2 separate regions of the Homo sapiens genome follow, and region 2 is linked to region 1. The links are contacts of gene promoters, found by promoter capture Hi-C in human tissues and cell types (Jung and others, 2019). All regions are on one chromosome and are shown on one strand. The core of a region is centred on a gene start or on the middle of the fragment in contact, and the rest is flanking DNA. Distances in the headings are between cores, read along the strand shown.

The links. The method cuts DNA at HindIII sites, captures the fragments that hold promoters and counts their contacts. A contact is called where the count stands out against the background at its distance.
Region 2: a fragment that was not itself captured here is called in contact with the fragment with the promoter of DNAH12 in region 1 in 1 of the 25 tissues and cell types used here (mesenchymal stem cells).

What each region holds. Positions count from the first base shown.
Region 1 is chr3:57,542,913-57,548,799 of GRCh38, reverse strand. DNAH12 (dynein axonemal heavy chain 12) reads left to right here and starts at 4,456. Exons shown (of 74, transcript NM_001366028.2): 1 at 4,456-4,603. RefSeq lists an enhancer at 4,318-4,868. The HindIII fragment of the contact is 14,626 bases long and covers 1-5,887 here.
Region 2 is chr3:57,504,384-57,510,298 of GRCh38, reverse strand. It overlaps DNAH12 (dynein axonemal heavy chain 12), which reads left to right. Exons shown (of 74, transcript NM_001366028.2): 6 at 1,087-1,159; 7 at 1,759-1,917; 8 at 2,461-2,656. Among named protein-coding and RNA genes, the nearest start is that of DNAH12, 37 kb to the left of the region's middle. The HindIII fragment of the contact is 5,615 bases long and covers 1,786-5,915 here.

The DNA of each region.
Region 1 (5,887 bases), core at 3,207-5,706:
TGAATAACTGTTATTTTACAGTGACCTATGATCTTCTTTTGATCAAATGTCTTAAAACTTTCCTCGTTTGTTTTCATTTAAAAACAATTTTTTTGAGACCGTGTCTCACTCTGTCACCCAGGCTGGAGTGCAGTGGTGCAGTAATGGCTTACTGCAGCCTCGACCTCCTAGGCTCAAGTGATCCTCCCCCCTCAGTCTGCCAAGTAGCTGGGCCCACAAGTGCACACCACCAACGCCTGGCTAAGAAATATTCTGTAGAGACAGAGTCCCCTGATGTTGCCCAGTCTGATCTCAAACTCCAGGGCTCAAGTGATCTTTCCACCTCAGCCTTCCAAAGTGCTGGGATTACAAGTTTGAGCCACTGAGCCTGGCCTTTTCTATTTTAATTGAGTGTTTTTATCCTTTGACATACTTGACAGGCTTCCCAAAGTCAAATTTCAAATTCTAAATTAAGTCTTTTCGGCCTCAAACTAACCTTAGGTTATCCCAGAATGGCCCCTGGAAGCCTAAGAGAGACGTATTAGGCTTATTTGATATGTAAATTATACAGGAAACCTTTGCATTACATTTATATGAACATGTTATTAATATGTGTTTTAAAAGTATATGAGATTCCTAAAAGTCTGATGTGTCTTTTTGTATGTTATCAGTCATAATTATGGCTACTATGTAAACTTGTTATAGACTACAGAAAAAAACAAATTTCCTTGTCAATCGCATCATTGTTGTAAACTCTTACCAGGTCTTTCACCATAGCCATTCTAAATCTTGTTGTTCGTAGTAAATTGCTTTATTCTAATGTTTTTTCTAAATGATCTTTGCAAGCAAATATAATCCTAAAGCATTGTGTCTTCAAAGAGGTTTATGAGAAGGATAAAAAGTCTGATACATACTCTGGAATACAGGCCTCTGTTGATTATTAAGTTGGACTGAATAAGAACTTGAGAAACTCCAATGGTAAAAACTGGACTTAAAATTGCTAATTTATCAAGTAGAACAAAAATTAATTACATGGGACGGAACTGATGAGGACTGAAATGATTTTAATGACTTTTTTGCTTGAAACGTTGCTTTTTATTATTATTTTCTTTCAGAGTTAAGAAAACTTTTTTTCTCTGCATTATCTGTAGTTTTATAGCAATTTGGTAACTTTTTGGTATATTTTGTGAGTAAAATTGAAATATTTATCTTTCTCTCTACCTGATATCTCCAGAATTAGGAAACTATTCATGAGTATTCTTGTTTTATGGCAATATTATTTATTTGTATAAGCTCAAGAGGAATCTGTTCTTGTAAAAGAACACACTTTTGGAAACATTGGCTATTAAAAAGGATGTACATCGGCCAGGCGTGGTGGCTCACACCTGTAATCCTAGCACATCTAGAGGCCAAGGCAGGAGGATTGCTTGAGGCCAGGAGTTCAAGACCATCCTGGCCAACATTGTGAGACTTTGTCTCTATAATAAAATTTTTTTTTAAAGTAAAAAAAAAAAGGACGTACATTGTATCAGTCAGGGTTCAAAGTGGGAAGCAGAACCACTAAGATATAATACATATCATCTATATCTATATCTATATCTATATCTATATATGTGTGTGTGTATGTCTATACATATATATATATTTTTTTAAACAAAGAATTGGCTTATGCAATGGAGGGGGCTGGTTAACCAAGTCCATGGTCTGTAGGGCAGACTATCTGTCAGGAAGGGAAGAACCAGAAAATGGAGAGCAGTTATAGACCCAGCTGCTGTTTGGAGTTTGACTCAGGGCATGCCCATCTCTTTATTATTATTTTTTTAATTTTTAATTTTTTAAAATAGAGACAGAGTTACACCATGTTGCCCAGGCTGGTCTCAAACTCCCTCAAGAAGTCTGTCTGGCTCGGCCTCCTAAGGTGCTGGGATTACAGGGTTGATCCACTTTGCCAGGCCTAAATCTTTTTAAAAGGATTTCTACTGATTGAGTCAGGCTCACCCAGGATAATCTTCTTAGATCAATGTCAATTGACCAGGGACTTGAATTGAGCTGTAATCTCCTCACAGCAGCCCTAGATTAGTGTTTGATTAATGACTGGGAGAAGGTGGGTATATCATACACAAGATTGCTGCCTTCTCTTTAGTTCTTCTAATTTAGCCTAACCAAATTGACATTCAGGCTAGATATGGTGGCTCATGCCTATAATCCCAACACTTTTAGGAAGCTGAAGCAGGAGGATTGCTTGAGTCCACTAGTTTGAGGCAAGCCTGTGCAACATAGTAAGACACTGTCCCAACAAAATATTTTTAAAAATTAGCCGATGTCGTGGTGTGTGCCTGTAGTCCCAGCTACTCAGGAGGCTAAGGTGGGAGGATCCCTTGAGCCCAGGAGTTTGAGGATGCAGTGAGCTATTGCTGTAGTCTCAGCAATGCACCAAGATGTAACAGTTTCTCATTGTCTGAGATAACACCTGGAGTTATTTGTCCCACCTCCAAGATGATTAAGGAGCGCAGACCCAAAGGTTAGTTTAGAACGAACGTTTAATAAGAGAAAGAAGAAAGCTCTCTGCCAGCAGAGAGGGGGACCTGAATGGGGTGCCCCCTATGAGGCTGGGGTCCAGGGTTTTTATGGACTGGGAAGGGGAAGGAATGTGCTTCGTCCCCCGACCCCGCTACCCTGGGGCTTGGCCTGGTACTAATCAGGAGCTGAAATGATGATTCATAGATGCTGCTTAGCTTGGCTCGGGACCTATCAGGAACTGAAGAGAAAGTTTGGCCCTGGACCTTGGCCCAGGACAAATCAGGAGCTGAAGTGATGATTCCTAGAAGCCGGACTTACAATCCAAATAAAGGAAAGTAGAGTGCCCACTGGAACCTACTGGAGCCCACTGTGCCCATACCCACAAAAGGAAAATAAACTTTTTTTTCCCTGGGAGCCCATTGACTATACAAAGGACAAAGGCATTTCTTTGTTCCTTTATGTGAGTGAGGAGGAGGTCTGTGCAAGTTTTTGTCCAAATGGGCTGGAGATTTTTCTATCTGTGGAGCCGTGGGCATGTCTCCAGGCACAACACCCTGTGCTAGTTCCCTTATTGGTGCCTGCCGCTTGAATTTTTTCCCAGGCTGCTTTTTATGTTATGTGGGGATGAGGCACTGACCCATGGGCTGGGGGTTCTCTGGGGACCCTTCCCTTGCTATCTACCTAATGCAAAATCTAGCTGACTCCTTTCACTATGATGGTGCCGCTGCACTCCAGCCTGGGTGACAGAGCGAGAGCCCTGTCTCTAAAAAATAAACCCTAACAAATTGACATTAAAAAAACTGTCTAATCTGTCATAGGACTGAGTTTAAAAGAGAAAAGGTGGCATGGTGCAGTGGTTCACGCCTGTAATCCCAGCATTTTGGGAGGCCGAGGTGGGCGGATGACCTGAGGTCAGGAGTTCAAGACCAGCCTGACCAACATGGAGAAACCCCGTCTCTACTAAAAAAAAAAAAAAGAAAAGAAAAAAAATTAGTCGGGTTTGGTGATGCATGCCTGTAATCCCAACTACTTGGAAGGCTGAGGCAAGACAATCACTTGAACCTGGGAGGTGGAGGTTGTGGTGAGCACTCCAGCCTGGGCAACAAGATCAAAACTCTGTCTCAAAAAAAAAAAAAAAAGTCACATTATTTATACAAGTATTTTATTTTCTACAGAAAGATAATTTGCTTTTACAAACTACCAGGAAGTTTTACTTGTTCATTCACTCGCTTAAATGACATTTTAGAGCACCTACTCTGTGCCAGACACAATAGTGTAGGCTGTACTCTCATTAAAAAAAAAAAAAAAAATTACGTAGCAACTGGCACATAGAAGGTGCTCAAATATTTGTTGAATGAATATGCTGTTAACACACCGGCAGTATTCACTTCCCTAATTTAATTTTGGCACATAGTATTCTCGTAGGCTATTATCATTTAGATGTAGTATGCATTGTGCAGCTTCAAACAGCAAAATTTCACATCTTTCTCCCAGCATACCACTAAATTCACACACCTTAACCTGTTTGATTTTGCCAAAGAATTCCTGGAAGTGCTGTGTCAACAAATAGCAAATCTAGAAGCAAGATAAATTATATTGCTGATTAGTTACAATATTTACAGGGTGTCACTAGGGGACATTTGAAGACTTGATTCTCTTGCTGAGAGTGTTTCCATAAATCTGTTTTCCAACAGATCTAAATTTCCAGTCTTGCAGTTTTCCACAGTTTGAAGATTCTAATTTCCTGGTCCCCTTCCCAGGAAAGGCAGTTAGGTTAAAACAAACAAACAAAACCTCACACCCCATTTACTTGAGTAACGAATTATTGTTGTGACAGGTAATCCTAACCCCTTGCAGCTTGGCAACTGCCTCTCCAGGCAACCTTCACCCAGCCCCTCCAGCTGGGGCCGCCACAGTTTCCATGGCGACGACGTTGTTTCCAACCGGTCAGCGACCGCCCTTCTCCAGCTACTCGTTTGAGAGCCGGTGGCGTTCCGGAGGTTTCTCCCTCGTTATCCCCCTGCCTTTCACCTGAGGAGAGGCTCTGACTGTCTCTCTCTCTCTCTGGCGTCTGCGCAGCGGGGAAGTAGTGAGAAACAATCAGGTACTTGTTCTCTGCTGTTCTCTTCCTTTCTCTCCCAGGGCAGGTATCGCGATTTGGGTGCCAACTTAAACACTCTTTCAAGGCAGGAATCTCCAAATCCTGTAGGCATTCATGGCAAATATAGTTGTTATCACAGTACAATTTTTTTTTGAGACGGAGTCTCGCTTTATCGCCCAGGCTGAAGTGCGGTAGCGGGATCTCAGCTCACTGCAACCTCTGCCTCCCAGGTTCAAGCGATTCTTGTGCCTCAGCCTCCTGAGTAGCTGGGATTACAGGCGCCTGCCACCACGCCCGGCTAATTTTTGTATTTTTAGTAGAGATGGGGTTTCACCATGTTGGCCAGGCTGGGCTCGAACTCCCGACCTGAGGTGATCCGCCCACCTCGGCCTCCCAAAGTGCTGGGATTACAGGCGTGAGCCACCGCGCCTGGCCCACAGTAAAATTTTTGAGCATTTACATGACATTTTATATTTGCCATGCATCAAGTATGCCTATTTTTTGCTTGATCATAGCATCACTTTCTTGGAAGGCAGCAAGACTAAGATATCATACTGATGTTTAAAAATATTAATGATTGGCTGGGGGCGGTGGCTCACGCCTGTAATCTCAGGACTTTGGGGGACCGAGGCGGGAAATCATCTGAGGTCAGGAGTTCGAGACCAGCCTGGCCAACATGGTGAAACCCTGTCTCTACTAAAAACACAAAAAAGTAGCTGGGCGTGGTTGCGCACCTGTAGTCCTAGCTACTCGGGAGGCTGAAGCAGGAGAACCACTTGAACCTGGGAGGCGGAGGTTGCAGTGAGCCAAGATCGCGCCATTGCACTCCAGCCTGGGCGACAGAGCAAGAATCTGTCTCAAAAAAAAAAAAAAAAAAAAAAAAACCATTAATGATGTTAAATATCAGCTTTTACTGGGAAGGGGATCATCCCTCAACAACTGGATTTGTTGTGGTGGTGGTGGTAGTGGTTTGCATCTCGGGAAAATTTTGCACCCAGAATGCTACAGCTGTAGGGATATTTACAGAGCATCTAATTCAATTCCTTAGTTTCATCCATTAGGAAACAAGCCCTGAAGGGGAACTGACTGGCTCATTGCTTCATAAGTGAGTTTTAGAGTTCTAACAGGAATCCCTGCCAACTTACCTCAACTGTCATTCTTTAGACTAATACCATACTTGGGAGGAAGATCCAAAAGTGTCTAGAATTTTACTTTTGGTATTGATATGTTAGATATGTTATGAATGTGTCGAGGCTTGCTGACATAATAATGGCTTTATGGACTTTT
Region 2 (5,915 bases), core at 3,344-5,843, 39 kb after region 1:
CTTAAGTCAAAATCCTTACAATTTAAGGGTACTTTTTGTATTTTTTTTATTAGCTAACTTCTCTTTGATTTTTTACTTTGTCTTTATGATTTTAGCTATACTATTTATAGGTTTGCTAGAAAATACTAATATGTTTTGGGAGATTTATTAGGGGTATAATCTTTGCTATTTTTTAGAATAAACTTTTTTCCTTTTTAAAAATTGACAAATAAAAATTGTATATAATTATCATGTACAATACGTTTTGAAATATGTGTGGAATAGCTAAATTGAGCTAATTAACTGATGCATTTTTTTCACATATTTATCATTTTTTGTGTGTGGTGGGAACATAAAATCTACTCTTGACAATTTTCAAGGGTACAATAAATTGTTACTAACTAGTCACTATGTTGTATAATTGCTTTCTTTTTTTTTTTTTTTTTTTTTTTTTTTTTATGATGGAGTCTCACTCTGTCGCCCAGAATAGAGTGCAGTGGTGCAATCTCAGCTCACTGCAACCTCCACCTCCCAGGTTCAAGCGATTCTCTTGCCTCAGCCTCCCAAGTAGCTGGGACTACAGGCGCCTGCCACCATGCCCAGCTAATTTTTGTATTTTTAGTAGAGATGGGGTTTCACCATGTTGGCTAGCCTGGTCTCAAACTCCTGACCTCAGGTGATCTGCCCTCCTTGGCTTCTCAAAGTGCTGGAATTACAGGCATGAGCCACCGCGCTCGGCCTCCATGTCGCGTAATCTCTTGAACTTGTTCCCTCCTATCTAACTGAAATTTTGTAGCCTGTGACCAACATCCTCCCAGCCCCTGGTAGCCACCATGAAATGCATTTTTTTAAGTGGCCATGCTAGTGACTTTTGAGTAGATGGAATGTGAAAAACTGAGATCTTATTAAAGCTTTTCGTTATCTGAACTCTCAAGTAAGGCCAAAATACTACCAAGAACTTGATTTTGTTTCAAATAAAGGAGTTTTTTCTTACATTCCTTTTAATGCACAGTAAACTATACCATCCAAAATCAAAAGTTAGAAACTTTGATATTAATAGATTGTGCAGAGATTTTCAAGAAGCATTAATATATCCATGTATTTTAGTGCAGAGCGTTCTTGTGAAACCACCAGTTAAATCGCTTGAAGATGAAGGAGGTCCTTTACCTGAATCTCCTGTGTGAGTAAATTATTTTAAAAACAGTACTTCATCCAATTTTTGATATAGATAAAAAATAAACTGATCTTACCTTCAAGTATACAATTGTGATGCTCAAAGGTATTTTGAACACATCTAAAAAAAAAGTACTCTTGTTTTTACCTCAGAGGTATTCTCTCTACTATGCTCATTTAGTTCTGCATACATAACTGGGGAGATCTTTATGAATGCATAGCTTAACTTAGCCTTGAGTAAGCTTTGGGGTATGGCAGACAGATTTCTCCAGCGCTTTTCTTTAGTCCTAAAGACTGTGTTCTTTCATTTTTACCAGGATAACTGAGCCAAAGCACAGTGGAAGTTAGCAGAGCTCTCAGATCTGGCCCATCACTCTGCCTTACTCACAAATTATTTCTGTTCTCTCTGAAGATAATGCAGTTTTGAGTTCTTGATGTGTTTTTATTAAATGCATATATCTTAAGGTTCCCATTGCTGACCACAGCTCCCTCTTCTCAAGCCCCAGTTTTCTCACTTCAATACTAATTTCATGTTATAAGCATTATTTCCTAAAGTTTAGGGTGTATTATTTTCATCATGTTTGATATGGTGTTTTGCTTTTCCAGAGGCCTAGATTATTCTAATCCTTGGCATTCTAGCTATGTGCAGGCAAGAAATCAAATATTCTCTAATTTGCACATTATTCATCCAACTATGAAAATGTTACTGGACCTTGGTTATACAACATTTGCTGATACAGTTTTGTTGGACTTCACAGGAATTAGGTAAAATCCCGTTTAATTTAAAATTTGAATGTCTCCTTGCTTGAGTCTATATTTTTGACTGTATAATTTTTAAAATGGAATCCTAAATCTTCAACACTTTTCTCTAGATTTTAGAGTTTAAAAAAATGTATCTTGTTTGTTTCAACAATTGTGTGGGTTTTTTTTGGTTTTTTTTTTTTTTGTTTTTTTTTTCCCGTGATGGAGTCTTGCTCTGTCATCCAGGCTGGAGTGCAATGGTGCGATCTTGGCTCACTGCAAGCTTTGTCTCCCTGGTTCAAGCAATTATCCTGCCTCAGCCTTCCGAGTAGCTGGGATTACAGGCATACACCACCACACCCAGCTAATTTTTGTATTTTTAGTAGAGATGGGGTTTTACCATGTTGGCCAGGTTGGTCTTGAACTCCTGACCTCGTGATCTGCCTGCCTCAGCCTCCCAAAGTGCTGAGATTACAGGTGTGAACCACCGAGCCCGGCCCAACAATTGTGTTTTAAGACCAATATGTATCATTTGCTTCAAATCACATTTCTTTTTCTCATAAATAGAGCTAAAGGTCCAATTGACTGTGAATCACTGAAAACTGATCTATCAATACAAACTAGAAACGCAGAAGAGAAGATAATGAATACATGGTATCCAAAGGTTATAAATCTCTTTACCAAGAAGGAGGCACTAGAAGGTGTTAAACCTGAAAAATTGGATGCATTTTATAGCTGTGTTTCCACACTTATGTCAAATCAGGTACATACACTTTATATATATTAAATGATAATGTTATTAAAATTAGTTCAATATTTTAAATAGAATTCTACGTAAACATAGTGCTAAGTAATTATTTTGAAATAAAATATTTCTACTGTAATTTTATTTTAATAATTTTAGCAGAAAAATATTGTGTTTCTGAAACTATCTAAAATGAAAGGAAATCTAGAAGTATATATTAGTATTATGAGTAATTACTTGGCTCATGCCTAAAGGATATATAAGTTAATTATAGCTTTATTTGGAGTATGTTAACAAAAGAACTATTCTAGTAACATATTTTTGAATTTATTAGATTCCAAGTTGATTGATTCTCATTTTGTTCTCAGTAAAATCTTGGTTTAAAATGTTATTGATCATTGTATAAGAGGTATCTGGTGGAAAAAATTTTTAAAGTTATTGATCATCTTTAAATGACAAATAGGGAATTTTTAATTTTATGAAATTATATTTATGGCCTCCTCAAATTTTTACTGTTGAAGATATACAATTCTAGAAAAATAGTTTTGAAGAAAAACTTTCCCTTTCAGTAAAGACCTCCAACAATTCCATGAATTTTGTCTAGCATATTTAAAAGGATAATATACATATTTAATATCTAGTATGTAATGCTGTAACTAATACACATGGTTTCCTTTCTACCTTTACCCTCTTAAGAGGACTGTGATTATTTAATAAAAGTAAAGAGATGAGGAATGTCTTGAAGATCATTTAGAACCATGTTTGTTTGCTGGGCTAAATTCCCAACAGTTGGTTCTCTATAAGAAACCATTATTCGTACTTTAGAAGCTCCTTGTGCATGTTTCTAAGTTCCAGTGGCTTTACCTTCACCCAGTAGTGTGCTAGAAATATGGCTCTCCAGGAAAGAAAATCACCCTGAGGCTGGGCACGGTGTCTCACACCTCTAATACCAGCACTTTGGGAGGCCCAGGCAGGTGGATCACTTGAGCTCAGGAGTTCAAGACCAGCCTGGCCAACATGGCAAAACCTCCTCTCTACTAAAAATACAAAAATTAGCCAGGTGTGGTGGCATATGCTTGTAATCTCAGCCACTCAGGAGGCTGAGGCACGAGAATAGTTTGAGACCGAGAGGCGGAGGTTGTGGTGAGCCCAGATTGTGCCACTGCATTCCAGCCTGGGCAACAGAGTGAGACTCTGTCTCAAGATAATAAATAAATAAGTAAATAAATAAATAAATGAATAAACAAATAAAAGAAAAAGATAATTACCCTGATTTGTAGTGTTTGTCGACTTCTGTGGTGTAAATATTCCCACAGTGGTAAATTTCGAGCTTCTAAGAGTTTAGCAACTGGCTCACAAAATTCTTGAGTATTTAACAATTGGCTCTTGAGAGAACAGGAGCTAGTTCTAGCATTTCACTGTACCTCACTCCATGTGCATGTCCCCCCATTACACACTTACCTCTGGCTGTCAGACCTCCCCTCCCTTCAGTCTTTACCATGTTGTTTGATCTTCTGGAACATTTTCTGTACCAGGGACAGAATTACTAAAGAATGTGAAAAGTTCTGAGTCACCATTTTAAGATTGTTGATATTCTATTAAAAAATTAAGGTTTGGCTGGGTGTGGTGGCTCACGCCTGTAATCTCAGCACTTTGGGTGGCTGAGGTGGGAGGATCACTTGAGCCCAGGAGTTCAAGACCAGCTTGGGAAACAAAGTGAGACACTGTCTCTAGAAAAAAAATTAAAAATTAGCCAGGAATGGTGGCTCATGCCTATTGTCCCAGCTACTCAGGAGGCTGAGGTGGGAGGATTGCTTGAGCCCAGGATCCCAGGAGCTCGAGCCTGCTGTGAACTATGATTGTGCCACTGCACTCCAGCCTGGGCAACAGAGCAAGACCCAGTCTTAAAAAACAGAAACAGGCTCGGCGCAGTGGCTCACATCTGTAATCCCAGCACTTTGGGAGGCCAAGGTGGGTGGATTACCTGAGGTCAGGAGTTCGAGACCAGCCTGGCCAACATGGTGAAACCCTGTCTCTACTAAAACTACAAAAATTAGGCAGGCGTGGTGGCAGGCACCTGTAATCCCAGCTACTCAGGGGGCTGAGGCAGGAGAATTGCTTGAACCCGGGAGACAGAGGTTGCAGTGAGTCAAGATCGTGCCATTGCACTCCAGCCTGACCGACAGAGTGAGACTCTGTCTCAAAACAAAAACAAAAACCAAAAAACCAAAACCAAAAACAAAATTAGGGTTTGCATATAATGTTCTATTTATTGTTTTAGGTTACCTTTGTTAATGTGTGTTCTCACTTATTTGTGGGAGCTAAAAATTAAAACAGTTGAACTAATGGAGATAAAGAGTAGAAGGATGGTTACCAGAGGCTGGGAAAGGTAGTGGGAGAAGTGGGCGGGGGGTGGGGGGTGTGGTAAGTGGAGATGTTTAATGGGTACAAAAAAGTTGGAAAGAATGGATAAGCTGAGTGTGGTGGCTCACGCCTGTAATCCCAGCACTGTGAGAGGCCAAAGCAGGCGGGTCACTTGAGCTCAGGAGTTTGAGACCAGCCATGAGCAACGTGACAAAACCCTGTCTCTACAAAAAATACAAAAATTAGCCAGGCGTGGTAGCTTGTGAATGTAGTTCCAGCTACTCAGGAGGCTGAGGTGGGAGGATGGCCTGAGCCCAGCAGGCAGAGGTTGCAGTGAATCGAGGTCTTGCCACTGCACTCCAACCTGGGCAATGCTGTCTCAAAAACAAAAAGCAAACAAAACAAACAAAAAGAAAAAAGAAAAAAAAAGAGAGAAAAAAAGAAAAGAAAAAAGAATGAATGAATAAGACCTAGTATTTGCTAGCACAACTGGGTAACTACAGCAAAACATAATTTAATCATCCCTTTAAAAATAACTAAAAGAGTATAATTAGATTGTTTGTAACACAAAGGATAAATACTTGAAGTGATGGAAATCCCATTTACCCTGATGTGACTATTGCACATTACATTCCTGTATCAGAATATCTCATGTAACCCTTATATACACCTATTATGTACCCACAAATATTAAAAATTAATAAGAACATATCATGCTGATTAGCTGGGTGTGGTGGCACGCGCCGTAGTCCCAGCTACTCAGGAGGCTGAAACAGGAGGATTGCCTGAGCCCAGGAGTTCAAGGTTACAGTGAGCTATGATGGCACCACTGCACTGCAGTCTGGGCAACAGAGTGAGACACTGTCTTAAAAAAAAATATGTATATATATATGTGTGTGTGTGTGTGTGCATG